Regions from separate parts of the Homo sapiens genome. Here region 2 is linked to region 1. Evidence: promoter capture Hi-C in human tissues and cell types (Jung and others, 2019). All regions are on one chromosome and are shown on one strand. The core of a region is centred on a gene start or on the middle of the fragment in contact, and the rest is flanking DNA. Distances in the headings are between cores, read along the strand shown.

Region 1 (5,666 bases), core at 2,070-4,569:
GATTAACAAGCTTCAGGGTGATGTTGATGCTACTGCCTGAGGACCATGCTTTGAGTAGCGAGGAATTAGATCATCCCTAGCCACAATTTTTATGCAGTCTCAGTGTTCTGAGATCCTAAAGTACATAAGCATCACCTGGGAAGTAACTAAACATGCAAAATTGTCAAGGTCCCCAAATTTTTACCAAATGTCCCAAGTGATTGTGAGATTCATAGTCTGAAGACCAAATACACACTACTCTACCCAAATGATATTTATTCTACCAATCCCATTTAAAAAAAAATGGCAGGCCGGGTGCGGTGGCTCAGGCCTCTAATCCAGGACTTTGGGAGGCCAAGGTGGGTGGATCATGAGGTGAGGAGTTCAAGACCAGCCTGGCCAAGATGGTGAAACCCCGTCTCTACTAAAAATACAAAAAAATTAGCCGGGGGTGGTGGTGCACGCCTGTAATCCCAGCTACTCGGGAGGCTGAGGCAGAAGAATCGCTTGAACCCAGGAGGCAGAAGTTGCAGGGAGCCGAGATCGTGCCACTGCACTCCAGCCTGGGCGAGAGAGCGAGACTCCGTCTCAAAAAAAAAAAAAAGACAGTAGCATTGTTTATCAATTTATAGGCTGCCCGATCAAATGTAGAGACATTTTTTCTTATTCCAGGTGAAAAGACAAATTACCAAAATGTAATGGCTCAAACCAACAGTAATTTTATTATATCTCATGATTTTGTGGGCCAGAAATGTGGGCAGAGGTTGGCTGGGTGATTTTCTCCCCTGTAGTGTATACAGAAGTCACTTAATTTCTAAGTAGTGAATGCACTAGTCTGAAGAGTCCAAGATGGCTTCATTTTACATGTCTTGGTACTCTGGTTGGAAAGCTGGGCCCAGCTGAGACTGTCACCTGGAATGCCTACATATGACCTCTTAATTTGGGCAGTCTCAGGTTAGTAAGTCTTTACATGGTGGCTCAACACTCCCGAGTGTTCCAAGACACAAGAAGTGGAAGTCGCCATTCTCTCAAGACCTGGGCTTGGAAACTGGCACAGTGTCATTTCTGCCACATTCCACTGGTCCAAGCGGTCAGAGTTCACTCAGGTTCAAAGTGAGGAGTCATATACAGGCTTGCTTCATGGCCATGCAACCCCATGTGCAGTAACGCAGGGCCCAAAACTCAAAAGGGCCCCATACTTGGCTTAATGCTCTGCTGTAGCCATCTTGAAAATATTTATAATTTTTGAATAAGGGGCATTACATATTCATTTTTCACTGGGTCCCACAAATTGTGTAGCTGTCTTAGCTGTCTTTTCTATGGGAGGACTATTAAAAAAAAATGTGGCCATCTTTAGTAAGTTATAAGCCACCTGCCAAATATTTTATTCTCACTATATTTCTGTATTAAAAGTTATTCTTTCAAAATGCAGACTGAAGTACGTGGGTTAAATTCAGCATGAAGAAAAACAGGTTATGAGGTTAGAAATAATGTCTTTTTTTTTTTTTTAAAGACGTAGTCTCGCTCTGTCGCCCAGGCTGGAGTGCAGTGGCGCCATCTCGGCTGCAAGCTTCGCCTCCCAGGTTCACGCCATTCTGCTGCCTCAGCCTCCCGAGTAGCTGGGACTACAGGCGCCTGCCACCACGCCTGGCTAATTTTTTTGTATTTTTAGTAGAGACGGGGTTTCACCGTGTTAGCCAGGAAGAAATAATGTCATTTTTTAGGATTAAGAAATTTGGTCACTTTGGCATTGACCAATAGTAATCTAAGATCAGTACGCAAGTAGGGTGGAGAAATGTGGATTAGAGGCATGTCACTGGATAGAAATGACGTGGGGAAAGGAGAGATGCATGCTTCAGAGCACTCAGTTCCAGACTGTAGAATCTGAATGTACTCCCCAAGCTGTAGGAAGTTAGCATAGTGAGTTTGGTTATTTGTTGGAGAGAATGGGTGATGGCTATTTTATCTTCTTACTCAAGCATAGTTATGGAAGTGTTCAGCTGAGGCCCATTCCAAAGGAGGTACTAAGATGCAAAAATGTTCAAAGGGTTTAGTCAGAAACCTAGTGGATGATCCTTAAACCCCTGATCCACATGGAGAATTCAAAAATTTGAAGTTAGAAATCAGAACGGATTTGAAAAGGTAGAAAGTTCTTAAGGTACTGTGATGGTGGAAATATTTCCCTTTATCTCAGGAGACCACCTGAAGAAATTAGTATATACACTCTGGATTTTGAAGAATGCAAAGGCCTAGTATGACTACTTCCTGAAGAAAATCTAAAGGGTAAGAGAAGAGATGACTAGCCACTTTGATGGAGGGAATGAAGGAGAGACTGGTGTGCGGTCTCCAATGTCCCATGCCGCAATGAGTTAAAAAACTTAACCTTGTCTAAGGATTGTCCCTGGTGGTTTCAGACTGTAAAATCTAAAAGCTCTTTCTTTGCTGGCATTATTCCTTGCTGGTCATTCTATCTACATGCATACTGAGAGAGAGATATCGCGGGAAGCACATAGCAGGCACTCCATAAATTTTTCAGATTTCCCAACTGCTTCCAGAAAGGAGTTTCCGGTCAGGCACGGCGGCAGCGAAAGAAATAGCTGCAGCGTTTGTAGAGCAGCTGGGACCCAGGCCTGTGCTCCCTGTGAGGCACGCCCGCCAGGGAGCCTCGAGCCGGGCGGAGACAACGGAGAGAAGCCCTATGTCGGAGCACCACTCCACCAGCGTTCGGAGCACCCCTCCACCAGCGTCCGGTCCACTGCTGGTCCTGCACAGTCGCCACTCCCCCCATCCTTCCTGCTAGCCCCGCCCTTCTTGCTAGCCCGCCTGGCCCTGTGTGCTTTCTCGACCCACCCCCGTTTGCCCTGCCCCGCCCACATGCCCCGCCCCACTTGCCCGGCCCCTCTTGTTGTCCCGCCTAGCCCTGCTGCCCCGCCCCGTCCCCCTCGCCCATCCCCCCAGTTCCGCTGCCCCGTCCCGTTCCGCTGCCCCGCCCCTCCAGTTGCCCCACCCCCTTCCGCTCTCCCTCCCCGCCCCGTTCCGCTGCCTCGCCTCGTCCGGCTCTCCGGCCCCGCCCCGCCCCGTTCCGCTGCCCCGCCCCGTCCTGCTCCCCCGCCCCGTCCTGCACCCCCGCCCCGCCCAGTTCTGCTGCCCCGCCCCTCCTGTTTCCCCGCCCCATCCCGCTCCCCCGCCTCGCCCCGTTCCGCTGCTCCGCCCCGTCCCGCTGCTCCGCCCAGTCCTGCTCTCCGGCCCCGCTCCATCCCGCTGGCCCGCCCCGTCCCGTTCCGTTCCTCTGCCCCGCCCCGTCCCGTTCCGTTCCTCTGCCCCACCCCGTCCCGTTCCGTTCCGCTGCCCAGTCCTGCTGGTACTCACTAGGTAGTAGCGGCAACGGACGCCATGGGGACCGCCTCGTCGCTCGTGAGCCCCGCGGGCGGGGAAGTGATCGAGGACACGTACGGGGCGGGCGGCGGCGAGGCCTGCGAGATCCCGGTGGAGGTGAAGCCCAAGGCCCGCCTGCTGCGCAACTCGTTCCGCCGAGGCGCGGGGGCGGCAGCAGGGGCCGGGCCCGGGTCGCTGCCCCGCGGGGTGGGCGCGGGCGGGCTGCTGGGGGCCAGCTTCAAGTCCACTGGCTCGTCGGTGCCAGAGCTGGAGTACGCGGCGGCCGAGTACGAGCGGCTCAGGAAGGAGTACGAGATCTTTCGCGTCAGCAAGAACCAGGAGTTGTTGTCCATGGGCCGCCGCGAGGCCAAGCTGGACACGGAGAACAAGCGGCTGCGGGCCGAACTGCAGGTAACGCCGGGCTGGGCCGCGACGCCGGGAGACCCTTGGGAAGCACGGCCGTCCTGCTCCCTCTCCAAACCAAGCGGCTTTGAAAGTTCGGCGGAAACTGCCCATTTTAATTTGAGAGGCCATATTCTCTTCGAGTCTGAAATGATTCCTTAACCCTCCCCTTTTTCTGTCTCTTTTTTTGGAGACAGGGTCTCGCTGCGGTGGCACGATCGCGGCTCACTGCAACCTGGAACTCCTGGGCTCAATGATCCTCCCGCCTCGGCCTCCTAAAGTTCTGGGATTACAGGAGTGAGCCACCGCGCCTGGTCCCCGCTTTTCTATTTCTGGTTTATTCATTGAGGCACCTAGAAGAAATTAGCCGGAAAGTGTCCTGAGGAGGCAAATGCCAATCTCCAGCTCCACTGCCGCCCCCGCGCCCACCCCCTCAGAAGGCTGGTGACATCTGTTGAAGCAACTCAGCAAACTCTTCCTAGGAGTTTCACCCCCCTCCCCACCATAAAAATTTTAAGTGGGTCTCCAAAGTGGGGCTCAAGTGTCGGTTTCTTTGTAAAGTTTCATCGCTCTTGCATTTTAATGGTCTTGACATGAAAATTTCTGGAAGCCTCCTGATCTCACCATGGTTGAAAACCTTCTCTAGATGTAGTCAAATTTCCCTAGTCCATTTGATTAATTTACGCTAAAAGCAATTATTGCATGCCCTCCATGTAGCAGGTCCATTATAATTCAATAAAATAGTATGTAAAGCAGCCGGGCGTGGTGGCTCACGCCTGTAATCCCAACACTTTTCGAGGCCTAGGCGGACGGATCACCTGAGGTCAGGAGTTCGAGATCAGCCTGGCCAACATGGTGAAACCCCGTCTCTACTAAAAATACAAAAATTAGCCGGGCATGGTGGCACGCGCCTGTAATCCCAGCTACTCAGGAGGCTGAGGCAAGAGAATTGCTTGAACCCGGGAGGCGGAGGTTGCAGTGAGCCGAGATTGCACCATTGCACTCCAGCTTGGGTGACAGAGCGAGACTCCGTATCAAAAAAAAAAAAATAGTATAAAGCAAGAGGTTGCTTTTCTGTGAACGAATCTCTAAAACTTTTTGCCCTCAGTTTGGGGCCCCTCTGGTCGTTGTTGTGTCGTTTGTGTACTCTTTACTGTGGGAGAGACTTATAGGCAGCCTAAGAGTTCCCGGAGTCGTTACAGTCGGGGTGAAATAAATACCTCAGACTGATTTTTCTAAAAGAAAAAAAGCCTCCTGTCTTCAAGACTAGACATTCTTCTAGTCAGGTTTTGTTGTTGTTGTTGTTGTTGTTTTTGTTTTTAAACTCCCTCATTAGCTGTTGTGTAATTATTGTCGTTGTCTGGGAAGAAGTCCGTGTAGCAGTTTATCTGTTGTCTTATCAGTTTTCCTACTGGGCAACCTTAATGCACTTGCATGTATAAAATGGACTAGTGCATTTCAAATATCTGATTCAATGTATCCAAGCCACTGCCCAACAGACACCGCACGTTGGAAACAACTGTGAGGTGGGGGTAGAAAAGGCCAAACCAAACAGGGCGGAGTGCAATAAGGGTTGGCAAGTGTCACAGTCACTCATGTCACCAATCCTGATTCCCTGTGAAACATACTGGTTCCTTTCTCACATATCGAGGCATGAAAAAACTTATCCATATTTATTTCATTCATTGTGTCAGACATTTACTGGAGACTTGCAGTGTACCAGGCACTGTGAAGTGCTCAAGGGATGGTGAGATGAATAAGACATAGTGCCAACAGGCACACAGTCTCTTAGAACTACTTATCCTTCAAGTTAAGCCTTACAAAATGTAATTTTTACTATCACAAAGATGGAAAAGGCATAAGGAAGTTTAAGAGCTGATGCAGTGTTTCAAAAAAAGTTAATTTCCATT
Region 2 (5,577 bases), core at 2,821-5,320, 550 kb before region 1:
GACCTATATTCAAATTTTACCAATTGTCTCAATAATGTCCTTTATAGGAACTTTTTTTTTTTCTGGTCCAGAGTTCGATCTAAGAACACATACTGCATTTGCTTGTCATGTCCTTTTAGTCTCCTTTGATCTGAAACAGTTTCAGTCAGGTCACTGCTCTTGATCCAGCACCTCACACGTCATTAGAAAGGGTGGCACTAAAGTTTGAGGGACCCTGAGTGTACCCCACTGAATGAACAGATATCATGTCATCCTCTCCATAGTCTGTCAAATTTGCCACCTGCTTCTGCTGACTCTCTCTGGGACACATAAAGCCCCATCTTGGCAAGGAATGCTGGGAATGACGCTGTTTACAGAAGCCGAAGCCACTTTTGATGCAGGCTCTGAGCCTCCCCAGCCCTGCACCTGGGTGAGCCAGATGGTTCTTAAAGCAGCACTTCCTCTTGGCACCTCTTAATTTCTGAGGCATTTAGAGAAAGAGTTATGCTCTCAACAAACGCCCACCACTTCCCACCCCATATTTAAAAAAATAGAGATAGTTCCTAGTTTACTCTCTTCGGTTTTCTTTCTGGAATCCTTGATAGAGATTAAGAAACCCCCAAATCAGGGGCTACATAATTGGTATGTGGCTATGACCTGACAAGATTCTTAAGGGCTTTAAGACAGTCAATTAAGAACACCTGTTAGATTAGCCTTCTGCCATGATCAAGGCCCACATCAGGATTGCAAATGCCATACCTGTAGCTGAATTCTTTGTCATTCCTAATTTTTTGGATTCTAGAATCAAAACAACCAGATTTCCATTCTCCTTAACCATCCAGCCTGCTTTATATGGTCTTTCTGAGCAAACGTGATACAAGATGAGAAAGTCTTCCCTTACACTCCCTTGGCTGGCCCCACAAGAATCAGTAACCACTTGCTGAAATGGCTTTTAACATGGTAGAGGTGCCAGAGTTAAAACAAAATGCAGGACACCCAGTAAAATTTGAATTTTATATGAAATTCAAATATTGTATGGGACATGTTTACACTTAAAATGTGTTTGCTATTTATCTTAATTTCAAATTTACCTGGGCATCCTATATTTAATCTAGCAATCCTAAGTCTCCATGGCTCCACGGGTCACCCTTTCAGCTTGCTGGAGACAATTACCACTACTAAGAGTCAAAACAAGGGAGATGATTTAACCAGAATGCCACGTCCATGGCTAGTCAAAGGACAACTGCACTGTCATAGTAATGCTAGGCCAATTTTTGACAAATAAAGCAACTAAGCAAATACTGAACCTAATACTGAACAGTTTTTGTGATACAGACTCACAATCCTTTATCTGCAATTTCAAAAGGCAAATCCTCTGAAAAATGAAAGTTTTTTTTTCCTGTTACTCACTTGGCAGCAATACCCAACCTATATAAAGCTATTTATTGTCTTTCTTTATCTCAGTGTGTATTGTCATACTTTTTGCTACAGAAATATTTATTTGTTTGATCATGGAGTGCTGCTCCAGATCCCCCTGGGGTATTAATAAATAATAAATACTGTATTTCATTTTAAAACATAAAAAATTCTAAATTATCCATCTAACCTCAAGAGTTGCAAGTAACGGATTGGGACATACACAAAAAAATTAATAGCCAGAAAAGAGTCCAGGCTGCATTATCCAATACAGTAGCCATCAGCCACATGTGGCCAAACTGAACCTTTGAAATGTGTCTAGTCTGAACTTAAATGCAATGTAAGTGTAAAATACACATTGAATTTCAAAAACTTAATATGGAAAATGTATGTGAAAAATCCAATTACATGTTAAAATAATATTTTGCATATACTGGTTAAATAAAATATATTATTAAAATCAATTTTACTTGCTTTTTATTTTTAATGTTGCTAAAATTCAGAAAATTAAGAATTACATATGTGATTCCTATTATATTTCTAGTGGACAGTACTGCTTTTAAAGAGTATCTAAGGAAAAAACTCCCATTTTCAATTGGGGAAACTAGATAAGAAAGTTACTGGGGTCATGTGGGCAGTTAGTTGTAGAGTCAGAGCTAAACCTTTAGTCTTCTGACTCCTGATCTAGCGCTCTTTCCCCTCCCCCATTAAAATAATTAAGTCCTCTATACTTGGTGTTGGAATTCTAAGACCACTTTTAGAGTTTAATTGAGTATTTATGGTTTTTGCTGATGGAAATAGGAAAATCAATCAATCAACTTGGAACCAATGGTTTTGAGATATTTCTTAGCAGATCTAAGAGCAGTGGACTTCATTTAGAGACTCTGAGGTAAGTTCCTTCATCAGCTCTGCTGGCAATGGCTCAGGTGTAGAAACTCACACCCAGCAGGGAGGGTAGGGAATGTGTCTAACCCCCTGACTGGCAAATGGTACAAAGGTCCACTGCCTGCAGAAATATGACCCCTTGACCCAAGGCATTCACTTAATTAGATACTTGTCACCCAGGGAAATGGTTGTTATTATTGCAGTGGGCAGGTTGTCATTTGTTCAGCAGTAACTACAGCTCTCCTACAGGAGGCAGTAGGAAAGGACTTCTTGCCCAACAGCACACCACTGTCTTTAGATAAATTCACAGAGAAACAAATCTACAAGGGAAAAAGAATGAAACACTTTGGGGGACAAAACAAAGTCACCAGCTACTTTGGGGGACAAAACAAAGCCCCCAGCTAAGTGGAAACCATTCTGTGAAAGTTAGGTACAGATTCCTTTTTGATACCTCCAAGCCAGGCTTGGGAAGACCTCCAGGCACTGTGCATGCAGAAGTACACTTGGTCTCTCCCATCATAAGAGAAAGGAAAGGTTTGAGGCAAGAGAAGGAAAGAAGGGAGTCACTCATCAGCCACAGTTTAAATCACGACATACTGTCCTAACAGGATTCTCTACAGCCTCGACAGAAGCACAGTTTATGAAAAACAAAACAAAATGAAACCAAAGTCAGAAGGCTTGTCCTCAGCATACTGGAATAACCAAGAACAATCTGAGATGGATCTTGTAGATGGGAAGGCAGTGGGGCATGCATCCGCTGTGCAGATAATTTTAGCTGTTTGAGAGCAGCATTACCTGTGTTCATACAAACTCGCTGGGAAGCATTGGGGTGAAAAGAACTTGGCCTAGGAGTCACATAGGACTGGGTGTGAATTTTGACTCAACTGAAAAAGTACTTAACCTCTCTCAGCCACAGTTTCTTCATTAGTAAAATAGACAAGAAAATAAGCCCCGAAGGATTGCTGTCAGGAGTAAATGAGATGTAAAACCCTTGAAGAATATCTATCCTATAAGACTGCTTGGTCTGACTGTTACGCCTGACCCTAAGTCTTCTCTCACAGAGTGGTAGTGAGTCGTCCATCTCTCCTCTCCTCTATTCTCTTCAACAACACCATGGAGGCATGATTGGCTAATCTATTTCTTCCGTTTGCCATGACTTGTTGCAAATGGATGAAATAGAGCATCTTGAAATGGAGCATTTTGTAATTTAACTGATTTAATGAGTCAGAAATTACTCAGCACATTTTAAAACACAGTATCTGATTTACACCTTGACTAGCATTTAAAGCCTGCAGTTCTTCCACCACTCACCCAGAACTCACACTCCTGAAGAAGGGACTCTCCAAAGTTCAGGGAGAGGGACCCTTTGAAGTCAGCACCCACTCCTGCTTCCTACGTCAGTCCTGCTGAGTACTTACTGTGGGGAGAGAAAGGGAAGGAAGGTGTGGGAGGTAGACGTGGTGTTTAGTTTGACTATCAATAGGAAATAATAGCTATACTTCTTAAGTGATGGATAAAAATCCAAGGCTTCTGATGAATGAACAAAAGAAAGAATCTAAGAGTCTGGATACCACTGTGTTCACTTGGTAGGGAAAAAACCCACATTTACTCTTCATTCCATTGGACACATCATAAGACAATTTTTATCCATAAGAAAACACATACATATTTAATTTTCTCCACCTTTAAGTCTCTTTTAAGACTAGGGTTATTTACCTGTGGTTCATTGATGGGTTAAAGGGGCTCATTAACCCACTAAAATTAAGGGCAAAGTTCTTGTGTATGTGTAGGTTTCTATGAAAAGGAAGTTTTTATTTGATTCTCAGAGGGGTTTGTGACCCACCCCTAAATGTACACACAATGACAAACTACTGGGCAAACCACCTCAGAGCCTGGTCCCTTCTCTGTCTGTAATGGGGGCTCTTTTCATGGTTATCAATGCGGACGCTGTTGACATCTGGGGCTGGGTGATTTGTCATTGGTAGAACTGTTCCACTCAATATATGTTAAGCATCCCTGGCATCTGCCCATTAAGTGCCAATATCATTTCCCAGTCATTGTGACAGCCAAAAATGGTCCCATACATTTCCATATCCCTCTTAGAGGGCAATACCTCCCCTGGCTGAGAAGATCAGGTTCACTTTCCCCATCTTCTCTTTCTTCATCAGAAAAATGCAGGAGGTAAGCGAGATGACCTCTAGTGGCCCTTCCAGCTCTATGATTCAGTAGTATCTCATACATCACTCCTAACCCCTGCCCCTAGTGTAATGCTTGCTCCTAGTCATCCCACTATGCTGACAGATGTGTGCCCCTTGGGGGGACCTGCAAGGTACCATAAAAATTGCATAGAACTGAGGCCTTGGTCCTAGACTTGGCTCTGCCCGTGGTTAGCTGCGTGACTTTGGGCAGTCCTTTAGCATCCCTGGCTTTAACCTCCATCAACTGTAAAAAGGATGAGTTGATTTAGAAGGTAAATGCCAGCTCTAAAATGGGATGATTCTTTGCAGTAATGACCATAGGGTCTATGAGATTTCTGTACATCAAGGAAGTTCCTAGAAGTCTATTCTCAGATATTAAAATAAGTCCTCCTTTAGGAAACACACACACACACACACACACACACACACACACACACACGTACGTGTATGGTGTTCTTATAAGGCTGAGTCAGAGCAAGATACTCCACATACCCCTCCGCCCCATTACCCTAAGTGTTAGATGACACAAATGAGATGCCTAAGAGAAAAAGTCTTATGGGAGGGAATATCCTATTTGGCCTTATTGACGAGAATCCAAGAATCTGCACAGCCTTAAGGAAACTGTGAGGCACAAAGCTCAGCTGTTAACTCCTCTAAGAGGCCTCCTTTAGCTCCTACAGCAGAGTTAAGCGCTCAAAACATAATTTAAATGCATTTTTATTGATTCATTAATTTTGTCAATAGCTGTTATTTGCTAATCTATTTACCTCTGTATCAAGTACATGAGGTCTTTGAACACAGAGATCATGTAAAATTTCTCTTTGCCTTGTTGATACAAGCCCAGCACAGAGGCTGAAACATAGTAGAGACCCAGATAAATGCAAAAAAGCAGGAATAAGGTTGGCCCATGGGCTAGAGAGAAATGAGATGACTAAAACAAGCTTAGCGTGCTTCTAGGTGGGGCTGGCTCATGACAGTTTGTAAATGTAGGCTCCAAGCTTTGTCTCCTCTGACTCCTATAGGAGAGTCAGAGCAGCGTCTGTTGTGTTAATCACTCTCTCCCTGCAAACAAGACACTTCCTGAACTCACACACTATCT

Evidence for each region. The method cuts DNA at HindIII sites, captures the fragments that hold promoters and counts their contacts. A contact is called where the count stands out against the background at its distance.
Region 2: a contact is called between a fragment that was not itself captured here and the fragment with the promoter of NPHP3 in region 1, in 1 of the 25 tissues and cell types used here (H1 embryonic stem cells).

The regions. Positions count from the first base shown.
Region 1 is chr3:132,720,062-132,725,727 of GRCh38, reverse strand. It overlaps NPHP3 (nephrocystin 3), which reads left to right and starts at 3,319. Exons shown (of 27, transcript NM_153240.5): 1 at 3,319-3,765. The coding sequence starts at 3,373. NPHP3-ACAD11 (NPHP3-ACAD11 readthrough (NMD candidate)) reads left to right here and starts at 3,269. Exons shown (of 45, transcript NR_037804.1): 1 at 3,269-3,765. It overlaps NPHP3-AS1 (NPHP3 antisense RNA 1), which reads right to left and starts at 3,978. Exons shown (of 11, transcript NR_002811.2): 1 at 3,349-3,978. RefSeq lists an enhancer at 2,373-2,562 and silencers at 2,803-3,312, 3,413-3,662. The HindIII fragment of the contact is 5,332 bases long and covers 781-5,666 here.
Region 2 is chr3:133,271,613-133,277,189 of GRCh38, reverse strand. All of the region lies in intron 3 of TMEM108 (transmembrane protein 108), which reads right to left. Among named protein-coding and RNA genes, the nearest start is that of TMEM108-AS1, 17 kb to the right of the region's middle. The HindIII fragment of the contact is 6,490 bases long and covers 826-5,577 here.